Linked DNA regions of Homo sapiens: region 2 is linked to region 1. The links are contacts of gene promoters, found by promoter capture Hi-C in human tissues and cell types (Jung and others, 2019). All regions are on one chromosome and are shown on one strand. The core of a region is centred on a gene start or on the middle of the fragment in contact, and the rest is flanking DNA. Distances in the headings are between cores, read along the strand shown. Region 1 holds the start of GPR22 (G protein-coupled receptor 22). Region 2 overlaps COG5 (component of oligomeric golgi complex 5).

Evidence for each region. Contacts are between HindIII fragments. The study calls those that stand out against the background at their distance.
Region 2: a fragment that was not itself captured here is called in contact with the fragment with the promoter of GPR22 in region 1 in 1 of the 25 tissues and cell types used here (IMR-90 fibroblasts).

What each region holds. Positions count from the first base shown.
Region 1 is chr7:107,467,749-107,474,708 of GRCh38, reverse strand. It overlaps GPR22 (G protein-coupled receptor 22), which reads right to left and starts at 4,652. Exons shown (of 3, transcript NM_005295.3): 1 at 4,264-4,652; 2 at 2,407-3,337; 3 at 1-674. The coding sequence starts at 648. The region is part of intron 6 of COG5 (component of oligomeric golgi complex 5); the gene reads left to right. The HindIII fragment of the contact is 7,138 bases long and covers 1,168-6,960 here.
Region 2 is chr7:107,507,724-107,514,762 of GRCh38, reverse strand. All of the region lies in intron 6 of COG5 (component of oligomeric golgi complex 5), which reads left to right. Among named protein-coding and RNA genes, the nearest start is that of GPR22, 41 kb to the right of the region's middle. RefSeq lists enhancers at 5,818-6,317, 6,318-6,819. The HindIII fragment of the contact is 4,703 bases long and covers 1-4,019 here.

The DNA of each region.
Region 1 (6,960 bases), core at 3,403-5,902:
CTGTACTAACAGGTGATAATACATTCCCAGTTCAGTGTAGTATTCATTTGTACTGACACATAAAAGTGTCTTGTTTTCCCAGGTATTTCCACTTTGAAGACTGAAAAAATTTACCTCAATAAAAGGAATCAGGAAAGAGAAAAAAGAAAAAATCCAAATGGATATCATTAACATTACAGCTCTGCCCATTGTCAGAATTCGGTTTGCAGGTTTTACAGAGATGTCATATCTGTCCAAAGTGATAGCAAAAACGTTGATTGCTGTTGAGACACTTGCAAAAGATACACAAGCCTCATGGAAACAGCAAATGAGAGCAGTGTTACTCTCCAGTGAAAGCAGAAGGATAACTATAGTTAGAGGAATACATCCCACACAAATTATTACATCAAGTACATGAAGATTCATTGTAATAATGTTACTGACAGAGTTGATTAAGTTGGATTTCATGCAGTAAAGTACCAATACAGTGAGGTTGCTGCCAAGTCCCAACACAATTTCTAACATAAGAAATCCGGTGAGAGACACTTGAAAGCTTAACGGATATGATAGTGGTTGGTACATATTGGTGTTGATGTCATCAATGTCATCTCGCACTGTAATGTTAGATTCAGACTGCATGTTGATTTCCAGAATGGGAGAAAAACACATTCTTTTGGAGCAGTTGGTTTTTTTCCCTAGAAAGTGAAATAGAATAAACTATTTGATATTTGGCAATTTAAATGACGTATAACGTGTTCTTTGTAAGAAAAAAAATCTTTCAATTGTGTACTTAGTTTAATTTTTAAGTTTGTAAACTATTAATAGAAAATGTAGAATTAAGAACCATCAAGTTTGCATTGTTTTGATATAAAAGAAAATTGTGTTTTCCTTTTGAAGAAATAACTATGGAAATTGTTCCTCTGTAGTGCAAAGTTAATATGCTAAAGGGCTTTTCTCATTTGAGTATTTCAAGCTTATTATTTGAGATAAAGTGTATTTTTGTATGATAAAACTTCCTAGCATACAAAATTAATTTCAGCCCAGTGTCTTAAAATTTCATTTAAATGTTGTGAGTAGGTACCAAATGAATGCTATTTTAATATGCTCTAGCATAATGAGTGTAGGTGTAATTATTCCTGTGAGATTTCAAATGAACAGGACAAGTGTTCATTTAAAATGACAAATGGTACAGAGCACTAGTTTAAGATGCTTTATCCATGTTGATTGAATTCATATTCAGAAGTCAACAATGTGCTTGGTGATATTTGGGGTTATTTCCCACAGAAATAGGCCAGTGATTAATATTTTACATATCACAGTTACAATGCTCACTGAACTTTGCAGTTGGCAAACTTAAAAATTAGAAGAAGTGGGACATTATGCTAAAATAAAAAGCTACAAAGCTTGGTAAAAGAGCATTAATCACTCCTATGAAATGATTTATTTTGTGACCACACCCTCTTGTATCTTGTGGAAACAGAAAATTGAAATTTAATATCACATTAAGAAATAGCCATTTTTGAAGTAGTTTAAAGGAATATATCAGTTGACATTGTTTAAACTGAGTTTTTAAAGTAAAAGATGAAATTTTAGGGAAAAGGAGTATGTGAAGCCCGTTTTTTGAGGAAGCTTTTAAAGTTACACATTACCTGTGAAGCCTTTTGTATATATCACCCATTGTCTAATTTTGAAGAAAAATTAAAAAAAAATACAAACGCTTTTGCTAATTCATGCAAATCTATATTTTAATATATAGGGGTTTAGAATAATTTGTAAAAAATAATGTCTAATGTTCTGGGCTAAAATGTCAGTTAATCAGTATATTCATTTTAAAATATGAACTCATACAACCAACTATATTTCACATTTCAAATACAGCATTTCAACTGCAAAATCATATTCAACATAAATTATAAAAGCTAATAATTTTCAAAATTCATGTTAACTTTCACTTAATGTTATATTTGACAAGTTTTAGAATACAGTTTTATTTATGAACTTTTTTGGGAATAATATTGCAGAAACACAAATGGTAACATTATTTCTTTTGAATTAGTATGAAGTATTACTAGAGGTATATTTATTCGAGTAAGTTAAGGTCTTAGCTAACATTGAAATCCTATAAAAATGGAAAATTTTAAGTGTGCCAAATTTTCTGAACTGACAGATTAAACATCAGGTCTTTGTCACATCAGTTAGATTTATAATTAAATAAAGCAGAAATGTCAAGTTAAATGATGATTAAGAAAAATACATTTTCTCTAGAGCAAGATTCTGTTCTTTCGTAAATGTTAAACAGTGTGGTGGGGTGCATGCATCTTCTGACCTACCTGTTTGCTGTTGCCTTATGGGCCTTTTGGTTCACTATGACAGTTTTTGGCAAATTGATACATGATATCATTGACAGATTTTGACATGAATTTTTACCTGACAACAGTGAAGTAGCTGTGTTTTATTTCATGTCTTGTAGGAATTCTTTCGTTTTCTCTCCAATACTTCAACTGCATGCATTATGAGATTTAGTTGGCTGATGGATTTCTAAAGAACAGTACATAATATTTGTATTTGTTTTGCTTTAAAAAGTCACGGCCAAGAGGAATTTCCTCAGATGATAGGAATTATGTTTCCCTTTGATGGAGTACATGATAATATTTCTTTATTTTCCAGAATATGTGAAAACAAAAAAGGAAACATAACGTTTGTAGCTTCTAAAATATATTTAGACATCCTTTTGTTACCATTGTAAATCTGTTTTTAATAGCAGTGCTCACTATTTTGAAATGATTTCTTGATCACATAACTTGCTTTATATTATAAATCCAGGCCATGTCCTTTTGATAAAAACCATCTGCTGTTTAATTTTGTTTGTTTTCATTAGAAGAGGATACATAATTGGTCATAAAAGTCAGATAGAAAAATCCATTAGTCATACCAATTGATATGAATATCTGAATATTTAGTGCAGAAAACACTTCCTAAATCTTCCTTTTGTGTGCTGATAAAGTATTTTCTTTTCTTTTTGGAAATTCATGTTTCATTATGTCTTCCAGAATCAGTAACTTCCACAATTCTGGTATATGAAAGTATAAACTTCCCCTTTTAAAAATTCTTTTCAGGCTTTTACAGTTATATTGTTTTTCTTTTTGTGGTTATTTTATGTAGCATCTTCTTAGGATACAGTTGATTTTTTATATTCCATCAGTAATGTAGACCTATTCCCTGGTTTTAACTCCTTAATGTCTTAAAGTCGTGTTACAAGAACATCTTGCAGTTCGTAGTTCAGACAGCTAGGGAGATGCTCAGTCAATTGCATTCTTCATATTGTCAGTTGTAAATACTGAATTAGCTGCTATTGGCCCTTGTGAAAAGAAGAAAATTGGTTAAGAAATAGGGTTTTTAATAATTTGTAATTAATTGCAAGTTACTTTAGTTTTGTTTAAAAACTATCCAGTATTTGTTATCAAAATAACCAAACTGTTATTATTAGAGCCACAGCTATATGCATAAAATTGTTTCTTTAAATAAGTCTTTTTTCCTAATAAAGATTGTATATATTATGTTATTTAACAATAGAGTTCACATTTCAAATACAATTGTGAGAGAAAAGCTATATTTTTTAAAACTAATTTCTGCTCTCATTTTAGAAGCTAACCTGTATTTTCAGAGATGATGAACAATTAGCATACACTAAACATACTGTTATTTCTTCTTTGTAATAAATTTAACAACATTTTTTGCTCTAAAAATATTGTAACTTGCCTAATTATTAGCACATGGTTTGAATTTTAACTCATTAAAACAGATTTCATAAGATACTATAAATTTCCATTGATGAATTGTTCATGTGGTTGAAATACAAAAGGTAATAAAAATTGTAACTGCAAATTAATTTTCAGTGAACATGCCAAATAATAAACTTAACATAAAATTAAGTAATAAGTAACAGCAAAATAGTAAACCTAGTTCTTTTAAGAAACAGAAGCATTTTTGAAACACTGGAGAAAAACTGTACTGATTACATTAAGAATATTTAGTATATCTGAAGTGACTCAAAAGCTGTCTTCATAATGAATTTACAAAGAATATTTGTATTTAACAATGCATCCTAAAAAATTACATTTAAAATGTAGCATGTCTTAAAAGAAATAGATCTTAAAATACATGTCTAGCAATAAGTAGAATTAAACAAACTCTTAAAATTTAGGCTGAAATTTTTCAAAGTAATTTTTACCCCACTATGCCGGTTCAAAAGCAGCTGTATACTATAATAGGAACAAATCTTACCTCTGCTAAAGATTTGATAAATTCTTGATGTAGTTGAAGCATTTCCAGTTTGGATTGATTCATTTTGTTCACTTGTTAGTAGAGGACTGGGGGAAGAGGGTCATAAACATCTCTTCGAAAATGACCTTAATGAAAATATGTGTCTGTAGTGTGCCATTGTTTCAGCAGTACTGCTAATGTATGGAACATGTAGTGCTGCTTAGAGGCTGCTGCAGTCTCTCACTCTTCCTACTGTGGAATCAATAAGCATCTGAAAATACATAATGAAAGTAATTTAACATACTGAAGGCTTCTTGTCTCCAGAGACAACATTTAGATTCAGTCTTTCTAAAAAGGAACGGCACTGCTTTTCAGAGGAAAGCCTGTTCGGGCAGCTTTTGCAGAATGACAGCCTACCTTGTCGCTTCTCTCCACTGCAGAGAGATGCAGTGTATTCACTAATTTTGATTGGTCAGTTGTATTGGGCTTAAACTGTGCTTCATATGTATAGCAGGGATTTCCCCCGCTCCCCACTGTTTTATATAAAGGACACTTTTAAAAAGGCTAAATTTATGAGTGGTTGTATGTTGTTCTTAAATAGAATATGTGTAAATTAGTATTTTAAAAATGTGTATTCTATTCTGGTTTGTTGGTCACTTATGCCAAACATTAAAAAAAAATGCAGGGAGGTGGGGGAACAGGAAAGAATTACATAGTAAAAAGTATATATGCTTTCTAAAGCCTTGATAATTGCATTTGAGAATATTTTAGTCATATATAGGTTTTTGATTGAGATTCTTTGTTCTACAAATAGAAACCCACTGCATCTTTACTGTGAGCCACAGTGAATTTTAAATAGTTTGTTTGTATTCAAGTCATCTTCTCTGGGTATTCCAAATTGTTGTGAGCATCTCAAGGTGTTAAACATTGTCATGACTTCAGTATTCATTCATTTGGGTATTCATTCATTTCATTCATTCATTCATTCAAAATAATAATCAGATTGACCTAAGGTGATAATACCCTAAAATATTTTTTAAACATTTCATTATAGTAGCTTAGTCTCGGGTATAAAACTTCAATCAGTAATCATTGTATTACTTTTGGAGATTACTACTTGGTCTTCACCTTTCATAACCCTTTTATTTGGTAGATGTATACTGATCATTTGCTATAATATTTTATTTCAATTGGCTTATTCTATTTTTGACCTGGGCACATTTCTTAGTAGATTGCTGTTTCTTAAATATGATATGTAGCTACACGCTAATATTGTTAGTAAAATATTATTTTAAAGGATAAAGTAAGTTACATGTCTTTATAAGTTATAAAGCCAAATCATTATAAGATAGATACATTTTCAAAATGAAAATAATGGTACAAGTACTGAATATTTAAAATTAAATATTTAAATATTTAAATTAAAAATTTTAAATTAAATTAAATTTAAATTAAATTTAATATTAAAAATAAAATTAAAATATTTAAAATTAAATTTCTGTTAATTTTAGTTACCTATAAATAAGTTCCTGTTTTTAATGATGAGGATAAATTTCTTTTAGACTTAAGTAGATAAAACAGCTGGACTCTGTTGACAAAATAGAGGACATTACATGTGGCTAAACTGTTAGAATGTTAATTATCACCTGTTTCCATTATTTTAGGAATATTTAGTGACCTTCATTTTTCAAAATGTATACTGGTTTTTATTTGCAATTGGAACTATTCTCTTATTATTTGAAAAGCCGTATGCATTTTTATAATCTTCCACTGGTAGTGTTGAATCTTTATAGGGGAATAGCTGACCAATATGAGTTGTGAGTTGCATTTCTATAGAAGTTGAGAGTAATATGGTGGAAAATTTTGTTGTGAATTTCTAAAATCTTCTGCACAGCTTTGGGTGGCAAGGCTTTGGTAATTCTAAAAATGAAAATGTTGTGCTGCTATTCATGCGTTTTGAAAGTTGGGGAAAAGGATCTTGCTAGAATGCCAGCCATTTATAAAGAAAACTTACACACACCGAAACACACACACACACACACACACCACAGCACACACATTCATTTAAGCTTAAAACTAAGACCAGAGAAAGCATAGCATCAGTGGAAATATGTGATGGGGATGAGGAGATTATTAACACAGCAGAGTGCTTTTCTGCCAGAGTTCAAGTATTTGCTTATGTTTATCATCAGAATATCCCCATGAAGTAGAAGAAACAAAGGTACAGAGAAATTTACTGACTTGAAAGGGTCAAGGTAAGTTAGCAGCAGAGTCAATGTTAAAACTGCAAACCACGCTGTACTAGGCGGTTGGCCTTCTCTCTTTGGAAAATTATGAAGGTCTTGGGACTTAGAATTGGATAATCTAGATTTAGTTGCTATTTATTACCTATATAACTTTTGGCAAGTCAAACATCCTTTGGGTCAACTTTGATTCCTTTTGTTGAAGTATATTTTTGTGCTTTGTTTAACTCTTTGTGAGACAGTGTTTTCAAGTTATATTCAGATTATTTCAAAAAAACAAAATCTGGGGTTTCTGAGCCATAATGGTAGCTCGAGCACAGACAGTGCTCTTTATTTTCTGTATGAGTAACTTGTCTCCAAGGATAAATAAGATATCACAAACTTTTTTTATTGTGTACAGTGCTTAGTATAATTTTATTTCCTTTTTAAAAACCACAAATTGGTGATTAACAAGGTATGCCGAAATCTTAACAAG
Region 2 (7,039 bases), core at 419-2,918, 43 kb before region 1:
TCTACTATGTGTGCTATGTGCTATTCCAGACACTGAAAACACAAGACACTGAACAAAACAGAAACCCCCTACCCTTTGTAGAATGTATATTCCAGTGGGTCCTAAGGACACCCATCTGGTGTATCTGTAAAAATCTGATTCTAAAGCCTGAGCTGGTAAACCACCAATGCTATACTCTTTTCTTAAACTCTGTGGCAGCATTTAATTGCTTCATAAAAGGGATTTCTGCTATTGGTAGGTCTCCCAGTGTCCTTTAAAAAAATCACATTATTATTGTACTTTCTAAGAATACTTTATACAAAATAGGTTTAAATGTATATTATAATTAAGTGAAAATGAGAAAATGACTTCTGATTGAGCTATAACCTCATAATAAACCAAAATATAAAATATGTGTGTGTGTGTGTGTGTGTGTGTGTGTGTGTGTGTGTGTAAAATAGGCCATGTTTATATAGAAAATGTATTTTATGTTAGGATTGTGGGTTGACTGTTGTTAGTAACTTAATATTCTATTTTAAAGCTTTATTGCATTATTGAAGAATCATTTTTTAAAAGTATAATCAAGCAATTGGATATGATAGAAAATATTTCCTCTACTAATTTTAATCGCTTATGGTCTATTTTCTGAGTTTTACATTTTTATTGCCTAGCTGCAATATATTAACACCACGTGTCATGAGAGAATATTCTTTTATTTTATTTTATTTTATTATTATTATACTTTAAGTTTTAGGGTACATGTGCACAATGTGCAGGTTTGTTACATATGTATACATGTGCCATGTTGGTGTGCTGCACCCATTAACTCGTCATTTAGCATTAGGTATATCTCCTAATGCTTTCCCTCCCCTCTTCCCCCACCCCACAACAGTCCCCGGAGTGTGATGTTCCCCTTCCTGTGTCCATGTGTTCTCATTGTTCAGTTCCCACCTATCAGTGAGAAGATATGGTGTTTGGTTTTTTGTCCTTGCAATAGTTTGCTGAGAATGATGGTTTCCAGCTTCATCCATGTCCCTACAAAGGACATGAACTCTTCATTTTTTATGGCTGCATAGTATTCCATGGTGTATATGTGCCACATTTTCTTAATCCAGTCTATCATTGTTGGACATTTGGGTTGGTTCCAAGTCTTTGCTATTGTGAATAGTGCCACAGTAAACATACGTGTGCATGTGTCTTTATAGCAGTGTGATTTATAATCCTTTGGGTATATACCCAGTAATGGGATGGCTGGGTCAAATGGTATTTCTAGTTCTAGATCCCTGAGGAATCGCCACACTGACTTGCACAATGGTGGAACTAGTTTACAGTCCCACCAACAGTGTAAAAGTGTTGCTATTTCTCCACATCCTCTCCAGCACCTGTTGTTTCCTGACTTTTTAATGATCGCCATTCTAACTGGTGTGAGATGGTATCTCATTGTGGTTTTGATTTGCATTTCTCTGATGGCCAGTGATGATGAGCATTTTTTCATGTGTCTTTTGGCTGCATAAATGTCTTCTTTTGAGAAGTGTCTGTTCATATCCTTTGCCCACTTTTTGATGGGGTTGTCTGTTTTTTTCTTGTAAATTTGTTTGAGTTCATTGTAGATTCTGGATATTAGCCCTTTGTCAGATGAGTAGGTTGCAAAAATTTTCTCCCATTTTGTAGGTTGCCTGTTCACTCTGATGGTAGTTTCTTTTGCTGTGTAGAAGCTCTTTAGTTTAATTAGATCCCATTTGTCAATTTTGTCTTTTGTTGCCATTGCTTTTGGTGTTTTAGACATGAAGTCCTTGCCCATGCCTATATCCTGAATGGTATTGCCTAGGTTTTCTTCTAGGGTTTTTATGGTTTTAGGTCTAACATGTAAGTCTTTAATCCATCTTGAATTAATTTTTGTATAAGGTGTAAGGAAGGGATCCAGTTTCAGCTTTCTACATATGGCTAGCCAGTTTTCCCAGCACCATTTATTAAATAGGGAATCCTTTCCCCATTGCTTGTTTTTGTCAGGTTTGTCAAAGATCAGATGGTTGTAGATATGCGGCATTATTTCTGAGGGCTCTGTTCTGTTCCATTGGTCTATACCTCTGTTTTGGTACCAGTACCATGCTGCTTTGGTTACTGTAGCCTTGTAGTATAGTTTGAAGTCAGGTAGCATGATGCCTCCAGCTTTGTTCTTTTGGCTTAGGATTGACTTGGCAATGTGGGCTCTTTTTTGGTTCCATATGAAGTTTAAAGTAGTTTTTTCCAATTCTGTGAAGAAAGTCATTGGTAGCTTGATGGGGATGGCATTGAATCTATAAATTACCTTGGGCAGTATGGCCATTTTCACGATATTGATTCTTCCTACCCATGAGCATGGAATGTTCTTCCATTTGTTTGTGTCCTCTTTTATTTCACTGAGCAGTGGCTTGTAGTTCTCCTTGAAGAGGTCCTTCACATCCCTTGTAAGTTAGATTCCTAGGTATTTTATTCTCTTTGAAGCAATTGTGAATGGGAGTTCACTCATGATTTGGCTCTCTGTTTGTCTGTTATTGGTGTATAAGGATGCTTGTGATTTTTGCACATTGATTTTGTATCCTGAGACTTTGCTGAAGTTGCTTATCAGCTTAAGGTGATTTTGGGCTGAGACAGTGGGGTTTTCTAGATATACAATCATGTCATCTGCAAACAGGGACAATTTGGCTTCCTATTTTCCTAATTGAATACCCTTTATTTCCTTCTCCTGCCTAATTGCCCTGGCCAGAACTTCCAACACTATGTTGAATAGGAGTGGTGAGAGAGGGCATCCCTGTCTTGTGCCAGCTTTCAAAGGGAATGCTTCCAGTTTTTGCCCATTCTGTATGATATTGGCTGTGGATGTGTCATAGATAGCTCTTATTATTTTGAGATATGTCCCATCAATACCTAATTTATTGAGAGTTTTTAGCATGAAGTGTTGTTGAATTTTGTCAAAGGCCTTTTCTGCATCTATTGAGATAATCGTGTGGTTTTTGTCTTTGGTTCTGTTTATATGCTGGATTACATTTATTGATTTTCATATGTTAAACCAGCCTTGCATCCCAGGGATGAAGCCCACTTGATCATGGTAGATAAGCTTTTTGATGTGCTGCTGGATTCGGTTTGCCAGTATTGTATTGAGGATTTTTGCATCAGCGTTCATCAAGGATATTGGTCTAAAACTCTCTTTTTTTGTTGTGTCTCTGCCAGGCTTTGGTATCAGGATGATGCTGGCCTCATAAAGTGAGTTAGGGAGGATTCCCTCTTTTTCTATTGATTGGAATAGTTTCAGAAGGAATGGTACCAGCTCCTCCTTGTACGTCTGGTAGAATTTGGCTGTGAATCCATCTGCTCCTGGACTTTTTTTGGTTGGTAAGCTATTGATTATTGCCACAATTTCAGAGTCTGTTATTGGTCTATTCAGAGATTCAACTTCTTCCTGTTTTAGTCTTGGGATGGTGTATGTGTCGAGGAATTTATCCATTTCTTCTAGATTGTCTAGTTTATTTGCGTAGAGGTGTTTGTAGTATTCTGTGATGGTAGTTTGTATTTCTGTGGGATCGGTGGTGATATCCCCTTTATCATTTTTTATTGCATCTATTTGATTCTTCTCTCTTTTCTTCTTTATTAGTCTTGCTAGCAGTCTATCAGTTTTGTTGATCTTTTCAAAAAACCAGCTCCTGGATTCATTAATTTTTTGAACGGTATTTTGTGTCTCTATTTCCTTCAGTTCTGCTCTGATTTTAGTTATTTCTTGCCTTCTGCTAGCTTTTGAATGTGTTTGCTCTTGCTTTTCTAGTTCTTTTAATTGTGACGTTAGGGTGTCAATTTTGGATCTTTCCTGCTTTCTCTTGTGGGCATTTAGTGCTATAAATTTCCCTCTACACACTGCTTTGAATGTGTGCCAGAGATACTGGTATGTTGTGTCTTTGTTTCCGTTGGTTTCAGAGAACATCTTTATTTCTGCCTTCATTTCGTTATGTACCCAGTAGTCATTCTGGAGCAGGTTGTTCAGTTTCCATGTAGTGGAGCGGTTTTGAGTGAGTTTCTTAATCCTGAGTTCTAGTTTGATTGCACTGTGGTCTGAGAGACAGTTTGTTATAATTTCTGTTTACATTTGCTGAGGAGTGCTTTACTTCCAGCTATGTGGTCAATTTTGGAATAGGTGTGGTGTGGTGCTGAAAAGAATGTATATTCTGTTGATTTAGGGTGGAGAGTTCTGTAGATGTCTATTAGGTCCGCTTGGTGCAGAGCTGAGTTCAATTCCTGGGTATCCTTTTTAACTTTCTGTCTCGTTGATCTGTCTAATGTTGACAGTGGGTTGTTAAAGTCTCCCGTTATTATTGTGTAGGAGTCTAAGTCTCTTTGTAGGTCACTAAGGACTTGCTTTATGAATCTGGGTTGTCCTGTATTAGGTGCATATACATTTAGGATAGTTAGCTCTTCTTGTTGAATTGATCCCTTTACCATTATGTAATGGCCTTCTTTGTCTCTTTTGATCTTTGTTGGTTTAAAGTCTGTTTTATCAGAGACTAGGATTGCAACCCCTGCCTTTTTTTGTTTTCCATTTGCTTGGTAGATCTTCCTCCATCCCTTTATTTTGAGCCTATGTGTGTCTCTGCACGTGAGATGGGTTTCCTGAATACAGCACACTGATGGGTCTTGACTCTATCCAGTTTGTCAGTCTGTGTCTTTTAATTGGAGCATTTAGCCCATTTACATTTAAGGTTAATATTGTTATGTGTGTATTTGGTCTTGTCATTATGATGTTAGCTGGTTATTTTGCTCGTTAGTTGATGCAGTTTCTTCCTAGCCTTGATGGTCTTTACATTTTGTCATGTTTTTGCAGTGGCTGGTACCGGTTGTTCCTTTCCATGTTTAGTGCTTCTTTCAGGAGCTCTTTTAGGGCAGGCCTGGTGGTGACAAAATCTCTCAGCATTTGCTTGTCTGTAAAGGATTTTATTTCCCCTTCACTTATGAAGCTTAGTTTGGCTGGATATGAAAATTCTGGGTTGAAAATTCTTTTCTTTAAGAATGTTGAATATTGGTCCCCACTCTCTTCTGGCTTGTAGAGTTTCTGCCGAGAGATCCGCTGTTAGTCTGATGGGCTTCCCTTTGTGGGTAACCCGACCTTTCTCTCTGGCTGCCCTTAACATTTTGTCCTTCATTTCAACTTTGGTGAATCTGACAATTACGTGTGTTGGAGTTGCTCTTCTCGAGGAGCATCTTTGTGGCGTTCTCTGTATTTCCTGAATCTGAATGTTGGCCTGCCTTGCTAGATTGGGGAAGTTCTCCTGGATAATATCCTGCAGAGTGTTTTCCAACTTGGTTCCATTCTCCCCATCACTTTCAGGTACACCAATCAGACGTAGACTTGGTCTTTTCACATAGTCCCATATTTCTTGGAGGCTTTGTTCATTTCTTTTTATTCTTTTTTTCTCTAAACTTCCCTTCTCGCTTCAGTTCATTCATTTCGTCTTCCATCACTGGTACCCTTTCTTCCAGTTGATCGCATCAGCTCCCGAGGCTTCTGCATTCTTCACGTAGTTCTTGAGCCTTGGCTTTCAGCTACCTCAGCTCCTTTAAGGACTTCTCTGCATTGGTTATTCTAGTTAGCCATTCGTCTACTTTTTTTTCAAGGTTTTTAACTTCTTTGCCATTGGTTCGAACTTTCTCCTTTAGCTCAGAGTAGTTTGATCTTCTGAAGCCTTCTTCTCTCAACACGTCAAAGTCATTCTCCTTCCAGCTTTGTTCCATTGCTGGTGAGGAGCTGCGTTCCTTTGGAGGAGGAGAGGCGCTCTGATTTTTAGGGTTTCCAGTGTTTCTGCTTTGTTTTTTTCCCATCTTTGTGGCTTTATCTACTTTTGGTCTTTGATGTTGGTGATGTACAGAAGGGTTTTTGGTGTGGATGTCCTTTCTGTTTGGTAGTTTTCCTTTTAACAGACAGGACCCTCTGCTACAGGTCTGTTGGAGTTTGCTAGAGGTCCACTCCAGACCCTGTTTGCCTGGGTATCAGCAGCGGTGGCTGCAGAACAGCGGTGGCTGTAGAACAGTGGATGTTGGTGAACCGCAAATGCTGCTGCCTGATCGTTCCTCTGGAAGTTTTGTCTCAGAGGAGTACCCGGCCGTGTAAGGTGTCAGTGTGCCCCTACTGGGGGGTGCCTCCCAGTTAGGCTGCTCGGGGGTCACGGACCCACTTGAGGAGGCAGTCTGCCCATTCTCAGATCTCCAGCTGCGTAGTGGAAGAACCACTACTCTCTTCAAAGCTGTCAGACAGGGACCTTTAAGTCTGCAGAGGTTACTGCTGTCTTTTTGTTTGTCTGTGCCCTGCCCCCAGAGGTGGAGCCTACAGAGGCAGGCAGGCCTCCTTGAGCTGTGGTGGGCTCCACCCAGTTGGAGCTTCGGGGCTGCTTTGTTTACCTAATCAAGCCTGGGCAATGGCAGGCGCCCCTCCCCCAGCCTTGCTGCTGCCTTGCAGTTTGATCTCAGACTGCTGTGCTAGCAATCAGCGAGACTCTGTGGGCATAGGACCCTCCGAGCCAGGTGCGGGATATAATCCCCTGGTGTGCCGTTTTTTTAAGCCCATTGGAAAAGTGCAGTATTAGGGTGGGAGTTACCCGATTTTCCAGGTGCCTTCTGTCACCCCTTTCTTTGACTAGGAAAGGGAACTCCCTGACCCCTTGCTCTTCCCGAGTGAGGCAATGCCTCGCCCTGCTTCGGCTCGTGCATGGTGCGTTGCACCCACTGTCTTGCACCCACTGTCTGGCACTCTCTAGTGAGATGAACGCGATACCTCAGATGGAAATGCAGAAATCACCCGTCTTCTGCGTCGCTCACGCTGGGAGCTGTTCCTGTTCAGCCATCTTAGCTCCACCCACCCCATGAGAGAATATTCTTAAAACCAAATACGTCATAGAAGCATTATGATACATTTATTGTGGAAGAGAGGGGTAGTTTAAACTTGTTTCATCCACTGATGTTCTTATTGTAGCTATGATATTTCTTAATCTGATAAAACAATACTTATAGGCAAACGTTTCTCACTTATGTATAGATGAAA